Regions from separate parts of the Homo sapiens genome. Here regions 1, 3, 4 and 5 are each linked to region 2. Evidence: promoter capture Hi-C in human tissues and cell types (Jung and others, 2019). All regions are on one chromosome and are shown on one strand. Each heading gives the region's core, a stretch centred on a gene start or on the middle of the fragment in contact. The rest is flanking DNA. Distances are from core to core; before and after follow the strand shown.

Region 1 (2,700 bases), core at 195-2,694, 710 kb before region 2:
TTACACCACCACACCCTTGAGTGGCTTTGGCTGGAGAGAGGCGTAATGAAATTCACAGCGAGCTTAGAATATCTTCCCACCCAGCTTTCCAGCAGGTGTGCAAGAGGGACTCTGCCAGCCAAATGCACTCTTGCCGGCAAGGCTTCCGAAGGTTCTGCTGGAGATCCTACACCCTTGCGTGGATTTTTTGCAGAGTTTAAACAGGCTTTTCAGCCCAGTCATTTTGTAGACTGATGCCCTGGAATGAACAAAGTCTTGGCAGTGACTTCCAGCATCCGCTGTCGGTTCCCATTCTGAATTGTGATGATGCCTGAACTGAATTTTCAAGTTACTAGCGAAGTAAAACCTGGGTGGGGGAAATTCTTCTGGAAATCGAGCTGTCTCGCTGACCTGAAGTGGCGCTAAGGTCCCTTTCACCCACATTAGAGATGGTCAGAAAGAGGTGGCACATGCTTTCCACCATAGTGTTGGGCTAGGCAGAGCCTGCAGACAGTACCAGCTGCGTGTCAGCATCCACACATAAAATCCCAGCCGCTTCTCCAAAAACCTGCAGCCCCAACCGCGGGGATTCGTAAGTCTGCGCCTGCGAGCTCATTGGAAATGCACTCCAGCTCCTTACCAATCACCAAGCAGTGGCCATAAATTGCTCCAAAATGAAAATGAGACTCTCAAAGGAAACTTCTGTTGCCTCACACAGAGGTGTCTATCACTAATTCAGAATCTGCTCACTGGATTCCTTAACACAAAGTTAAGCTGCTCTGAAGCATGAAGCCAGTTGGCGATGAAGATGGGATCTTTTTAATTATTTCAAATCAAGCTGCTTCCAAAAATGGCTTTCTGGGAACGCAGTCTTCGCCACCAGCTGGGCATTTCAGCGTTCTTGGCTTTTGATTTCCAGTGACATGGATAATGGGCAGCTGATGAGGATCCCCCTCTCTGTGTGTCTCCTTTAAAAACAAAATGTGCGCATTCCCAGTTACCTACAGAAGAACTCACAGCAACTTCCCTTTTTACTCTGGGAGCCTAAAACCCTTCCACTTGTATCATGCAGCTCATGGTGATCTGGTTTGCTAAGCAGTCTCCCTTACAGAAAACAGCCATTTGTCAATGCAGAAGACGAAAGGCCATTCCCAGTATCAGGGCAACCAGACTCGGTTGGTAGAAGGCAGGGCCCCTTCGTGCCAAGTCCAGCTTCCATGGAAATACCGTTCTCATTCTGAAGAGAACTGGTATGTAGAAGAAAGAAGCATGGAGACCACAGCTGACTACGAGCTCTCCCACTTAAGGGTGTTCAGTTTTGTTTGAACTTCCGTGAAAACAGTGGACAAAACAGAACCACAATGATATTGCATCTAATACCCACTAGGGTGGCTATTATGAAAAGAAAACACATACACACAAACAGAAAATAACAGGTGTTGGGAAGGATGTGAAGAAATTCCGCCCCATTTCGCGGTTGTTCTGAATATAAAATGGTATAGCCGCTACAGACAACAGTATGGTGGCTCTTCAAAAAATTAAGACAGAATTACCATAGAATCCAGCAATTCTGCTTCTCAGTATACACTCAAAGGAACAGAAAGGAGGGGTTCGAAGAGATATGTGCATACCTGGGTTCAAAGCAGCTTTATTCACAGTAGCCAAAAGGTAGAAGCAACCTGAGGGATATGATGAGGTTTCTCTTCAAAGAACCCAATCAATCTTTTATTCTTTAATTTATAGTACCCTTCCCCCTGCTGCCCTTTCCCTTTTTTTCCTTTTTGCCTTTGTTAGATGCCCAGGCATGCCACAGTACCAGGCATTATCAGTAGCAGCTCACATTCCTTCCTTTATTTGGAAAGAGGACTAACTTTCTAGTTCATTACAGAACACCCCTTCCCCTTTCCTCTTCGCTTTCTTTTACGTGCCCACCTTATCTAAAAAAAATCAAAGGTTCAGCCAACCGGGATTAGTTTAGATTGTATGACCCGACCCCGGCCAATGGGGAAAGGGTACAGGGGCAGGACTTGCGTCAGGAATAAAGGCTCTCGTGCCCCTTTGTTCAGGTGTGCTGTCATGGCGACTGGCCAAGGAGGCACCCCTCTGCGCAGAAGTAAAATTGCTTTGCTAAGAATCTTTTGTTCGTGTGTTCACTTTCCTTAGGATTTTGAGCGTTATTCCTAACAAACCCAACTGCCCACCGATGGATGAATGGGTAAACAAATACGATCTGTCCATACAATGTCTACTATTCAGCTTCTTAAAGGAAGGAAATTAGGACACATGGCGGAACATGGATGAACCTTGAGGACAGTATACTACATGAAATAAGTCACAAAAAGACAAATACTGTATGATTCCACTTGCATGAGACATCTAGAACAAATTCACAGAGACAGAAAGTAGGAGGAGCAGGGGAAAGGGCAACGGGGAGCGACTGTTTAGTGGTGCAGAAGTTTTGCAACATGAAAAGAGCTCTAGAGAAGGATGGTGGTGACGGTGGCAGAACAGTGTGAATGTGTTTAATGCCACTGAGCCGTGCACTTACAAATGGTGAACATGATGGATTTTTTATGTGTGTTTCACTACCATTAAAGATTAAAACAATGCCTGTAATCCCTGCACTTTTGGAGGCTGAGGCAGGTGGATCACGAGGTCAGGAGTTCAAGACCAGCCTGGCCAAGACGGTGAAACCCCGCCTCTACTAAAAATACAAAAAAA
Region 2 (2,700 bases), core at 167-2,666:
AACGATGCTAGCTGGCAGGGGTACGTTACGGGTTTTGTCGGGGGCGGGGAGGGGGTGGAGGGAAGCCCAGATTTGGGAAGGAAAGCTCGTTTCACAAGAGATCCCATCTCTCGTTTCAAAAGGTCATTTCCATTCAGCAGATCCTCTTTCCCTATTTCAGAGCTCACCACTGTATTCTAAACAGAAGCCAATAGAGGGAGAAAAACAAAGCCAAGTGCAAAAGCTGTGGGCACTGAAAGTTTTGCTCCACCGGCCGCGCAGCACCCACTTGGGGTCGGGCTTTGGGACTTGGGGGAGTCAGGAGCAGGCGGGGGCTGGGGAGAGGACGAGGCCCTGGGGAGGGGCTGGAAAAGGCTTTTCACAGCGACTGGCACTTGATATTTCCAAGTCTTCTGGATGTCACTCACCGGAAACCAGACCCTGCGGTGCGAAGACTCAGGTACAGACCAGCCCCTTTTTCATCCATGCAATGGGAAGGGGACTCGGGCATCCTTTTAAGGAGCTGAGAAATGGGTCCTCAACTTAAAAATTTTTGTTTGTGCTACTGCGGTATAAAAAAAATAAAACGCAAAGTAGCAGACGGGGTGCAGGCTCTACGGGGCTCCGTTTCCCTCTCCTCCGAGTCTGGCGTGGAGGAGCCCCTGGGCTCCCTAGAGCCCCCAGCAAGGCGCATCCCGACCCGGGCCGGGAAGCGGGGGGACCCCGGACACACTCTCGCTGCTCAAGTTCGCGCCTCCGCGCCCCGAGGCGACGCCCCCGGCCCGCGACCCCGCGCGCACCTACCTTGCGCCAGCGCCCGGAGCAAGTGCAGCTGCAGCGCCAGCAGCGCCCACCAGCCGCGGCGGCCCGGCCCCAACTTTGCCGCCCGCCGCCCGCCGCACCGCCCCGCGCCCGCCGTGTCCCCGCCGGAGGTCTCGGGCGCCGCCCGGGGTCGCGAGGGCTCCGGGCCGGGGCGCGGCGCCAGCGAGGGGCGGGCGCGGCCGGGCGGGGATCCCCGCGGCCGCCCGGGGCCCGCGCGCTCAGGGGGCTCCGCGCCGCCGCCGCCGCCACCGGCCGCCGAGGGCCGGGCGCCCCGGGCCATGCCGAGCAGCCGCCACCCCGAGCGCCGCGCCGGACGGACGGGCGGGCAGGACAGGCGGGACGGCTCCGAGCGGGCGCGGCCACTCCGCGGGAGGCGCGGCGCCCCCCGGCCCGAGGTGAGCGGCCGCCCAGCGCTGAGGGGCGGCGTCCTGGGTCCCCGCGTGAGGGGCGCGGCGCGGGCCGGGGACGAGCCGGGCGAGAAGAAGTTGTCAACGGGGGAAATTCGCGTCCGGCGCTCACGCAGTCCCGAGCCCGCCGCGCTAGCTCCGAGGGGTCCGCCGGGCGCGGAGGAGCCGCCGCCGCCGCCGCCCCCGCCCGGCGCTGAGAAGAAAGTGCGCCCGCCCGCACGTCGCGGTCGCGCTCGCCCTCAGCTGCCGCGGCCGCCGCTCCCCATTCACAGCCCGGCCGCACGCGCCGCCCGCGCCCGCCGCCCGCCGCCCGCCGTTGATTGGCCGAGGGAGGCGGCGCCCGCTCCCAGGGCCCGCCCCCCAGGCCCTCGCTTGTTTTCAAAGTCGCGGCGCCCGCCCGCCTGCAATTTTGTGCCGGCCGCGGCGCCTGGCTCGGGCGGCTTCCCGCGCCGGCTGCGCCCCCTAGGGACCCGTAGTGGGGACTGCAGGCGGCGTCGATTCGGCACGCGCTCCCGTGGCGGGCTCGCGGGCGGGGGTGGTGCATCCTCGCCCGGCCCCGCAGCGGTGCGGGCGCCCGAGTGGGAAGGGCTCAGGTGCAGCAGGACGCGCAGATCGTGCGGCAGCCCAGGGCCGAGGGCGGAATAGGGCGCGCCCCGAGAGGCGCCCGGCTACCACCAGCTAGCTCAGTGCTTGGGGGTGACGCGCCAAGTTACCGTAATTGCAAACACGCGCAATCGGGTTTTTAATTTCTAGCAACCAAAGGCACCACTGGGTGCAAACTCGCCTCCTGTTCAGAGGAGTGGATATGGCATTGTAGAAGCGTCCAAGGTCACTTTTGGCCGGCGCTGGAGGAGGGCGGGGTAGGGAGGGACACATTGCAGGTTTCCCACCGTGGAGTGGGCGAGTCTTGGGGCAGGGTCGGCCAGTGGGAGGGTCTCCCAGGGCGGGACCCGGGAGCCTGTGGGGCTGGGGGTGGGGACGGGCGCCGACGCTCAGCATGTGGTAAGCATTAGCAGAGTTTATGGGGTGAACTAAGCGCACTGGAGGCTGAAAGGCCAGCATTTTTGTGGGAGGAGAGCTGGAGGTGACACGCACTGCCTCTGGAGTTGGCCCGGGAGGAGCCTGGGGACGTGTGATGATGGTCGCATGAGATCATGTAAGAGATGAACGCAGAGGGGCTGGGTGTGAGCCCAGCACGGGGCTGACTCCCCAGGAATCACCTGATGCAGTAGGTTTATTGTCCCAGCCAAGAAAGACCCCGGGCGAGTGGAGAGCAGGTCACAGGGCTGGGGTCTGGGATAGGAGCCAGCTCCTGCTCACAGAGCGCCTATGGTATTTGTCAAATAACTGATTGGTGGCTCAATATTAGCCTCTGTACACGTCCCCTAAGACTTAACAATGACCACGTGAACAAAACAGGGAAACTGAGGTCCAAGTACAGCCGCCGAACAGGAGGTGGTTTCAGAAAGAGGCCTCCCATCTGCCCCCTTTC
Region 3 (2,700 bases), core at 177-2,676, 650 kb before region 2:
CAGCCCTGTGAAACCAATAATGCTCGGCCACAGGGCGTGGGATTATAATCTCATCCAAATCCCTCGGAATTGACACAGACACTCTCTTCAGGGTTTTTGCAGTGTGCGCCAACCACAAAAATCCTACCTGCTACAGCAAATTCTTATGAATAAAAGGGGATTTAACTCAACATCATAAAGAAGTGAAGTGTGTTTGTGTACCTTTAAAAGTCAGAACACGGAGAGGTGCTAACTCGAGAGAACACAAAACTAATCAGATATAAATGTAAAACTAAAGCTCTTAAGATAGATTTAAATATTTTAAAAAGGAATGATGATCGAAACAAACATTCTCGTTTAAAGGGAGATAAATTTCTTCTCTTGTTTAAATTACCTTAAAATGTTTGAACACGGTATAGTCCTGTCTACTAGAGATTTACACGTCGCAAATTTTAATTTTGGCTGAATCTATAATGTGCTGTGCTCCTAGAACTACAGATCAACCTCGATGAAAAAATCTTTGCAGAGAATGGGATGTGATATTTACATCTGTAGCGGAAGCATGGATGGGGAAGGTAGCAATACCAGCTCAGGCCTCTCATGTAGAATCAACAGTGATTGGTGACTCAAAGCCGGCTTCCTTGGATGCTTTTAACAGACTTTCGCTTCTTTCAGAGGGACCGACAGGTTTGCACTGCATTGTATTTAGAAGAGTCAAGGTCAGGACATGGAGTCATTTCCTAATGATTAAAGGAATGGGACGTGATCAAGGTAAACCACCTTTTGTGCAGTATTCCTTTTCTTGCTAGTTTCATAGGAAAACACAAGCTTTTTTTTTTTTTTCCTTATTTTGCAAAGTGGCAGACTGCAAATTTTTTTATTTAAGGGGCTCTCTGAGGGTTTTCTTATTTGAATTTTCCTGTTCTCAATTCCCCTTTTTCCCAAAGAGGAGAGAGGAAGTCGAGATTCTCCTTCCTAGAGGCGGCCTCTAAGGCTACCTCTTATCAACAGCGGCTACCACTGCGGAACACAGGCTGCTCTCATAGTCATCACGGCCACTTATGAAGAATAAATGCATGACAGTAGCTGGAAAAATGAGAGAAATAAAGTCACTTGCCTCACAACTTAACCTCCTCATAAACTGATAATAGGTTTTGTATTTTCTTAGCCACTGTACAATGCACACTCCCTAAACACTAATAGTTTCCAGCATTTAGAGCTGGGCAACTCCAGTGTACTTAATTTTATGTTCTTTCTCCTTGGTTCAGGAATAATATGTCGCCCAGTTTGAGGAAGCATCTCTGTTCTCTTTTTTTTTTTAAGTTTAACAAAAGGTAACATCCGATAGTTTTACATTTTCTGCTAGGTCAAAAAATAACAGCTAAATTAATAATTAATAGAATAATTTCTAAATTAATAATTTTTTTTTTGAGTTGGAGTTTTGCTCCTGTGGCCCAGATTGGGTTGCAATGATGCGATCTTGGCTCACTGCAACCTCTGCCTCCTGGGTTCAAGTGATTCTCGTGCCTCCGCCTCCCGAGTGGCTGGGATCATAGGCGCCCGCCACTGCGCCCAGCTGATGTTTGTATTTTTAGTAGAGACGGGCGGGATTTCACCATGTTGGCCAGGCTGGTCTCGAACTCCTGGCCTCAAGTGATCCGCCCACCTTGGCCTCCCAAAGTGCTGGGATTACAGGCATAAGCCACCATGCCTGGACAGCAATAATAGAATAGTTTCTGAACACCGATCACGATAGCCAAATAAGAGTTACAGAAAAGCTTAGCAGCCTAAAGCTAGAATAGGAGAGGGATCTATATGACAGGGGTTTCACCGCTCTATTTCCCGAGCTTTGTGACTGGAGTATTCAGAAGGACGTTTCTTGGAAGGATTGAGAACATCAACACTTTGGATTTAATGGACTTATATTCTTGGGAAAGAAGGCTAGGAAGGATTTCGAAGGTAAACTCAACCTCACCTTCATTTGCCGAGTTACAAATAAAGCCACTGAAATACGCTATTTTGTTTCTGCAGAAGAGTCAGTGTCGGATGCTATCTGAGATGCTGGCAACACCACTTAGAGGCTCCCGCATTACCTATGATGAAAAGAAAGGCCGTCGCCCTGGCCGGTTCAAAAGCGCTCCCCGGCAGCGCCGCCTCGCAGACGTATGGCCCGGTGTCCGCGGACGTCGGGTTGCTGATGGTGAGGCGTCTTCCAAAGCTGTGGAGGCCACTGGTGATTCTCACTCCATTCCTCTTCCAGGTCACACTCAGGTCCTCCACAGGCCTGTGGGAATGAAAGGCATTCATGACGACGATTGTGACTCAGGGAGGTGGCAACGGTCATCATCTCAGGCACTCGGCACAGGCTTGACGAAGCTAATGCTACCAGGGTGCATGGTGGGTTGAACAACGGACACTGAAAACTCAATCTAGATGTAACTCTACTCCCTCCCAGCACGCATTGACGATGCATTCTGCTCAAGGGCTATTAAGCAAGGATATCTAATTGCCGCAGCAATGGACCATAAGTGCTAATGATCCCATTTGCTCAGGAAATGAATGTTTAAAATAAATACTGTGAGGGGACACAACGACATGGAAGGCGGGATCATCCGAGCTTGATTCTGGAGCGACCGCTAAGTAGGCAGAGAACACCTTGGCTGACTAAGAGGAGAAGAGCAATGAACTTTTTCCTCTGCCTCAACTCCTCTCTCTTCCCTA
Region 4 (2,700 bases), core at 36-2,535, 880 kb before region 2:
GGGAGGACTGTCTGTCCTCCCAGGGACGGGAGTAGGGAGCAGTCATCCCAGGCGGAAACAGCTTGGTATGGATGAGGGGGCACATACTCAAGGAGGGGGAAGCCTGGGGGCTCTGGAAATACAGGCAGGGGCTGAGATGCCTGCTTGGGGTCTGGGCAGGAGTGCAGGCTTAACCTGAGACCAGGGCCCATCCATGAATAGTGAGTGTCTTGAAGGCTGGAGCGTGGTCCCACAGTGCCCGGAACGCTGTGGAATGTGGAGCTGGGCCCAGAACTCTGGCTGGGTCATCTGAAGAGCTCTCCTGCTGAGGAACCCATAGACACTGTCCATACCTCCACCAGAAAAATTTCTGGCCACCTAGTCAAACTCTGCCTATCAGCACTGCAGGACAGCTGTGGTGGTGAATGCCCGAGTCCCCTTCTTCTGACTGTCGCACTGGATCTCCTCTAGGGACCCTCTCGCTTCACAGTTGGCCCAGGTGGTCCAGGTAGAGATGACATCTCCCTGGCTTTGGGCACCTCAGGACGTTGGCTGCAGCAACTAGTTTGGGGACAGATATGCAACTAAAGGCAGGCTGAAGACAGCCAGTGGACTTCCACTGCAGAAAAGGGAAGCTCTCTGTGCCCAGGGCTGTATGGCCACCTTGATGAAGAGCCTGACCAAGGAAGGAGCCAACTAGGAGGAAAGTGGATCCAAGAGGCCACATGGAGCAGCTTGCTGGGGCGCTGGATCCAGCCATGCCTGAAGCTGTCCCAGGCTCTGCAACTCTTCCAGTGCAGGAGTTAATAATGATTCTTTCAGCTTAAGCTTGTTGGCGTTGGGTCCTACCTCCTGCACACTGGAGTCCTTACCGATGGATTATTTTTACCAATTTGTAGTGCCTGGGCTTGTGCATCAATCTCAGCTAAAAATCTAAAAATTATCCTTCCTCTCTGAGTTTAAACAGATTTAAGTATCACGTATTTGAACTTCAGGGGACCCAGAGATCATCTATTCTGAACATTTCATCATTTTACAGATGAGGCCAGACAAACCGACTCACTCACCCAGGGTCCCCCTCATTCACCAAATACTGACTGGGGGCTGACCCCGGGCCAGGTACATTCTGGACACTCATCTTATGAGCAGGACTGGTGCCTTAGTGGCAGCAATGAAGCCAGTACCTGAGTCTCCTCACTCACAGGTCTCCCCACAGCAGCACAAGGTCTCAAGGCCAGACTCAGAGGGGTTAAGTGACTTGCCCGTGGTCACACAGGCAGTAAACAGTAGAGCCGACGCTTGGACCTGCACGCTTACCTATGGGACCACAGCAAAGTCTTAGTTTTCATAAAAGCCTTTGAGCATTTCGGGCCCACGAGTTTGTGGTGCTCTGAAGCTTCCAGCCGAGGGGACGGAAGCTGGCCCAATTTAATTTCCTCTTCTGAAGGCCTACTTGCTCTAAGTCAATACGTTAGCAGTGCCTCTCCTCAGCAGATTAGGGTTGTTACAATGCAGGTACTTGGGCTGCGAGAAGCAGAGGCTAGAAAGGGAATGGCGAACTGGCTTTCTCCTTCCAGAAAACTCTCTGCAGTGTAAACACAGAACCCGGAGGAGTGTGCTGAGGCCAAACAACTGAGATGTCCACTTGCAGGGTTGGCACTGCCAGGCCTGGCACAGGAGATGTGTGAGTTGTTTTGGGTGTGCAAGAGCCAAGCCACATCTGATGGGTGGGGTGGAGCAGAGACCTGGATGCAGGGGCCGTGTCTAGGAATTTACTTTTTAGTTTAACTTAGAGCAAGGCTGATAATGGTCCTTCCCTAAAGCCAATCCCCCTCCTCGTTTGGGGGTGGAAACTGCCTTTGTAAAGCTAATAAAAGGCTGAGAGATTAGGAGTATGGGAGAAGCCTGAACTCGGCTAAAATATAAGCATACTTTCTTTTTTTTTTTTTTTTTTTGAGACGGAGTCTTGCTCTGTAGCCCAGGCTGGAGTGCAGTGGTGCGATTTTGGCTTACTGCAACCTCTGCCTCCCGGGTTCCGGTTCAAGCGATTCTCCTGCCTCCGCCTCCCGAGTAGCTGGGGTTACAGGCATGCACCACCATGCCCAGCTAATTTTTTGTATTTTTAGTAGAGATGGGGTTTCACCATGTTGGCCAGGCTGGTCTTGAACTCCTGACTTCGCGATCCACCCACCTCAGCCTCCCAAAGTGCTGGGATGACAGGCATGAACCACCGCACCCAGCCTGTAAGCTGGGTAAGTAATCCCTCACTGCTCAGGAGGCATGTGACCAGAGGTCACAAAATTAGTGACTTTCCCAGTTGCTTCTAAAGATAACATCACTATTATAGAAACTACAATTGATCTTTTGAGATGCTTTTCAGACTTTTGCATTCTGAAAATGGACTGACCCCATCTGGACTCATGACTCACGACTCACGGCTTAGGGGGTCCTGTGGCCCCGCTCAGAGGTGGACTCAGCACATGAGGACCGTTTTCCACGCCCCGTGATGGCATCCCCAGCCAATCAGCAGCACCCACTCCCTAGCCCCCACGCCCACCAAACTATCCTGGAAAAAACTAACCTCTGAGCCCTCAGGGAGACTGACCAGTGATAACTCCAGTTCCCCCATGTGGCTGGGCTCTAATTAAACTCTGTTTTGACTGCAATACCATGGGCTCAGTGAACTGGTTTTGTCTGTGCTGCAGGCAGGAGGAGCCTGCT
Region 5 (2,700 bases), core at 36-2,535, 570 kb after region 2:
TGCCCAACCCAACGGCAAAGACACAGAAACCAGGTCCCCTTGCAGACGGCTCTCCCATCTTCCTGCAAGTCATCTGCTCACACACAGTTGGCAGCACATAGCGTTTCCTTCTTTCAGAAACATTCCTCTTCTGGGGCTTCAGAAAGCTGGCAAGGCCACTAGCAGAGCTTTTGTTAATGCCCCAGCTGCTTGGCGAGCTAACAGCTGACCTTTCGGGAAGCCCACAGACGCTGGAGGAATCTTGAGTTTCTCCAAACTGCCGCTCCACCAGTGCCTTTGGACAGCCGTGCCTGTTCGCCGCTCTCCCTAAGTCTGATTCTCATCGAGGCCCCTCGCTTCTATGACTGTGCTTGCAGAAGAGTAAACACTCTCGGATGCCGCTGTCCTGGGGGAGCCCGCGGGAGCCTGTGAATGTTGATACGAGCTGGCCAGTCCTGGGCCCAGCTCACTTGTCCAGCTACCTGCCAGGTGGCTTTCACTGTGTTTAAAATACATTGCATTCCAAGCTGGTCCCCTCTGTGTATCACTCTACTGAGAAATCCTGCCTAGTGTGTTTTGGGATGTGTCCTAGCATTTACAAGAAAATGAAAAGCGTCCTCTTAATTGGCACCCGAATGTTGCTGTGGCTCAGTCACATATCCCAGGGCCCTCGTCCCGAGGCCGTGCTGCCCCGAGCCCCGAGCCCCTCTGCAGCTCACCCTTGGCTTGTTTTCCGCAAACCCGGTAAACGCAAGCCCTTGGGGCAGATGCAGAAGCAGAAGAGGGAGGGGAAACCTGCCTCTGGGTCACCCTGTTAGCACAGCGTTCTCATCGGGAGACAGCATGGAACTCTCTCTCGCAGTGCTCGAGGCTGTGTGTCAGTGTTTGCTGGGCTTGTGGCTCCTTTTTTGGCTGGATAAAGAAGTCGCTGTTTTTGTACTGCTTCTGTGGCTCTTCACAGACCTCACGGATGTGACCGGAGATGAGTGCCGATGACCACGTTTTAAAGGAGAAAGAGAGCTCCTGGTGGGGCCCTCGGGGTGGTCTCAGGTCCCATTTGCAGTCTGCAACAGTGACGCGCAGCCCGGTCCGGAGCGTGGTGAGCTTTGTTTGCCTTCTGGGTCAGCTTTCGCTGTGTCTCCTGTGTGTGTTAGAATCCAGAGCCCAGAGGAAGTGCAAGCGGGTCCTCCGCCAACGGGGAGAGCCTCTTCGCGGCGCTGTTGGCGACAGCAGCGCTGTGATTCGCGTAGCAGGGGAGTTGTTTGAAACACCTTCCTGAGTAGTCCGGCCTTGTCAATGAGTGCTTGTTTTCCTTTAAACAGTCTGACATATTTACTCGTCACTTTCAAACCAGAAGCATGAGAGGAAGGAGATATTGTGGGGTCCGTTTAACTCGATAGAAAGCGCAGGGGGATGGCCCCCGGCGCGGGCTCTTGACCCGCTCAGCGCTGACCCCACCGCCCTGGCCGAGGCACTTGGCCTTGCTGAGCTGGACTTCCTCCTCCTCCTCCTCATGACCGGGGTGAATTAGAACGTTTTTAAAGACACCCCCTTCCAAATTCTGTAACACATTGTAATTGGAGAAGAAGGAAACTCTGCAAGGCTAAACTGTCATTCACAACTTGGCTACACATAGACTCTAGTCAGTTTTGTCTCCAGAACCTTAGGCTTTTGTATTTTTTAATTTTAATTTCACTGTTAATCCTTATTGTCTTTTTTATTAAGATGTTGGAAAAGCAGGAGGTAGTTGTGCCTCAATTATTGCAAAAATGTAACAATAAAGTTCCTCAAAATAAGATCTGTTCCTCATAGCTATACTGTGTACACATAAGACGCATATAGGGTTTTACTGAAATCTATTTTTAACTCTTATGTTCGTAGAGAAATTGTTTCAAGGATTTTGAGTCATAGGTCTGTAATTTATAGAGATCTCTAGAATTCTTATTGTAATTTTCCTACTTCTTTGATAAAAGAAAAATAAGTCAGATTGTTAACTCCAAGATTGAAAAAAAAAACTCTTGAAAGAAGATTATTAGTTGTAACTAATTTAGGGGTTCTGGGCACAGACATCTAACCTGGTATTGTAAGGCAGAGGCTCCCATTGGAATGGTAGTGGTCCGGGTCAGTTGTTCATGGTGTAAGCTTTGCACAGTGTATTAACATTGGGAGGGTCTGGCTTGAAAATTTGGCCACCCTCAGCCTCTGAATGTTTATTAAAATAAATTTAGTCTTTCTTTGCTTAATATAAAATAGTGCCAGTATTCAAAACCAACACTAAATTGATTTTTCATTCCCCAGGATTCACAGCAGATCACTCTCATCCTAATTTTTTTTTTTTTTTTTTTTTTGAGACAGAGTCTCCCTCCACCTCGTGGGTTCAAACGATTCTTCAGCCTCAGCCTCTCAAGTAGCTGGGTCTACAGGCGCCCGCCACCACACCCAGCTAATTTTTTGTATTTTTAGTAGAGACAGGGTTTCACCATGTTGGCCAGGGTGGTCTCTATCTCCTGACCTCGTGATCGGCCCACCTCAGCCTCCCACAGCCTCCCACAGTGCTGGGATTACAGGCATGAGCCACCACACCCAGCTCTAATCCTAATGTTATTTGAAGGTGGTTTATTATTTATTCATCACAGTTTTTATTTCCACATACCAAACAAAGCCTGGCATGTAGGAGAACCATTGTAAATAATACAGGTGTGGCTCACACCTATAATCCCA

The links. Contacts are between HindIII fragments. The study calls those that stand out against the background at their distance.
Region 1: a contact is called between a fragment that was not itself captured here and the fragment with the promoter of SDK1 in region 2, in 5 of the 25 tissues and cell types used here (dorsolateral prefrontal cortex, heart right ventricle, hippocampus and 2 more).
Region 3: a contact is called between a fragment that was not itself captured here and the fragment with the promoter of SDK1 in region 2, in 1 of the 25 tissues and cell types used here (dorsolateral prefrontal cortex).
Region 4: a fragment that was not itself captured here is called in contact with the fragment with the promoter of SDK1 in region 2 in 1 of the 25 tissues and cell types used here (dorsolateral prefrontal cortex).
Region 5: a contact is called between a fragment that was not itself captured here and the fragment with the promoter of SDK1 in region 2, in 1 of the 25 tissues and cell types used here (dorsolateral prefrontal cortex).

Annotation. Positions count from the first base shown.
Region 1 is chr7:4,007,771-4,010,470 of GRCh38, reverse strand. All of the region lies in intron 14 of SDK1 (sidekick cell adhesion molecule 1), which reads right to left. Among named protein-coding and RNA genes, the nearest start is that of SDK1-AS1, 660 kb to the right of the region's middle. The HindIII fragment of the contact is 5,333 bases long and covers 1-2,700 here.
Region 2 is chr7:3,299,968-3,302,667 of GRCh38, reverse strand. It overlaps SDK1 (sidekick cell adhesion molecule 1), which reads right to left and starts at 1,416. Exons shown (of 45, transcript NM_152744.4): 1 at 784-1,416. The coding sequence starts at 1,081. SDK1-AS1 (SDK1 antisense RNA 1) reads left to right here. Exons shown (of 3, transcript XR_001744897.3): 1 at 1-439. RefSeq lists enhancers at 615-1,115, 1,825-2,336, 2,337-2,700 and a silencer at 1,390-1,939. The HindIII fragment of the contact is 11,292 bases long and covers 1-2,700 here.
Region 3 is chr7:3,951,293-3,953,992 of GRCh38, reverse strand. SDK1 (sidekick cell adhesion molecule 1) reads right to left here. Exons shown (of 45, transcript NM_152744.4): 7 at 2,073-2,263. It overlaps LOC124901576 (a long non-coding RNA gene), which reads right to left and starts at 2,058. Exons shown (of 2, transcript XR_007060195.1): 1 at 1,955-2,058. The HindIII fragment of the contact is 3,750 bases long and covers 1-2,700 here.
Region 4 is chr7:4,182,875-4,185,574 of GRCh38, reverse strand. All of the region lies in intron 35 of SDK1 (sidekick cell adhesion molecule 1), which reads right to left. Among named protein-coding and RNA genes, the nearest start is that of FOXK1, 500 kb to the left of the region's middle. The HindIII fragment of the contact is 3,667 bases long and covers 1-2,700 here.
Region 5 is chr7:2,727,634-2,730,333 of GRCh38, reverse strand. It overlaps GNA12 (G protein subunit alpha 12), which reads left to right. Exons shown (of 4, transcript NM_007353.3): 4 at 1-2,229. It also overlaps a transcript of AMZ1 not described here. Among named protein-coding and RNA genes, the nearest start is that of AMZ1, 41 kb to the right of the region's middle. The HindIII fragment of the contact is 4,731 bases long and covers 1-2,700 here.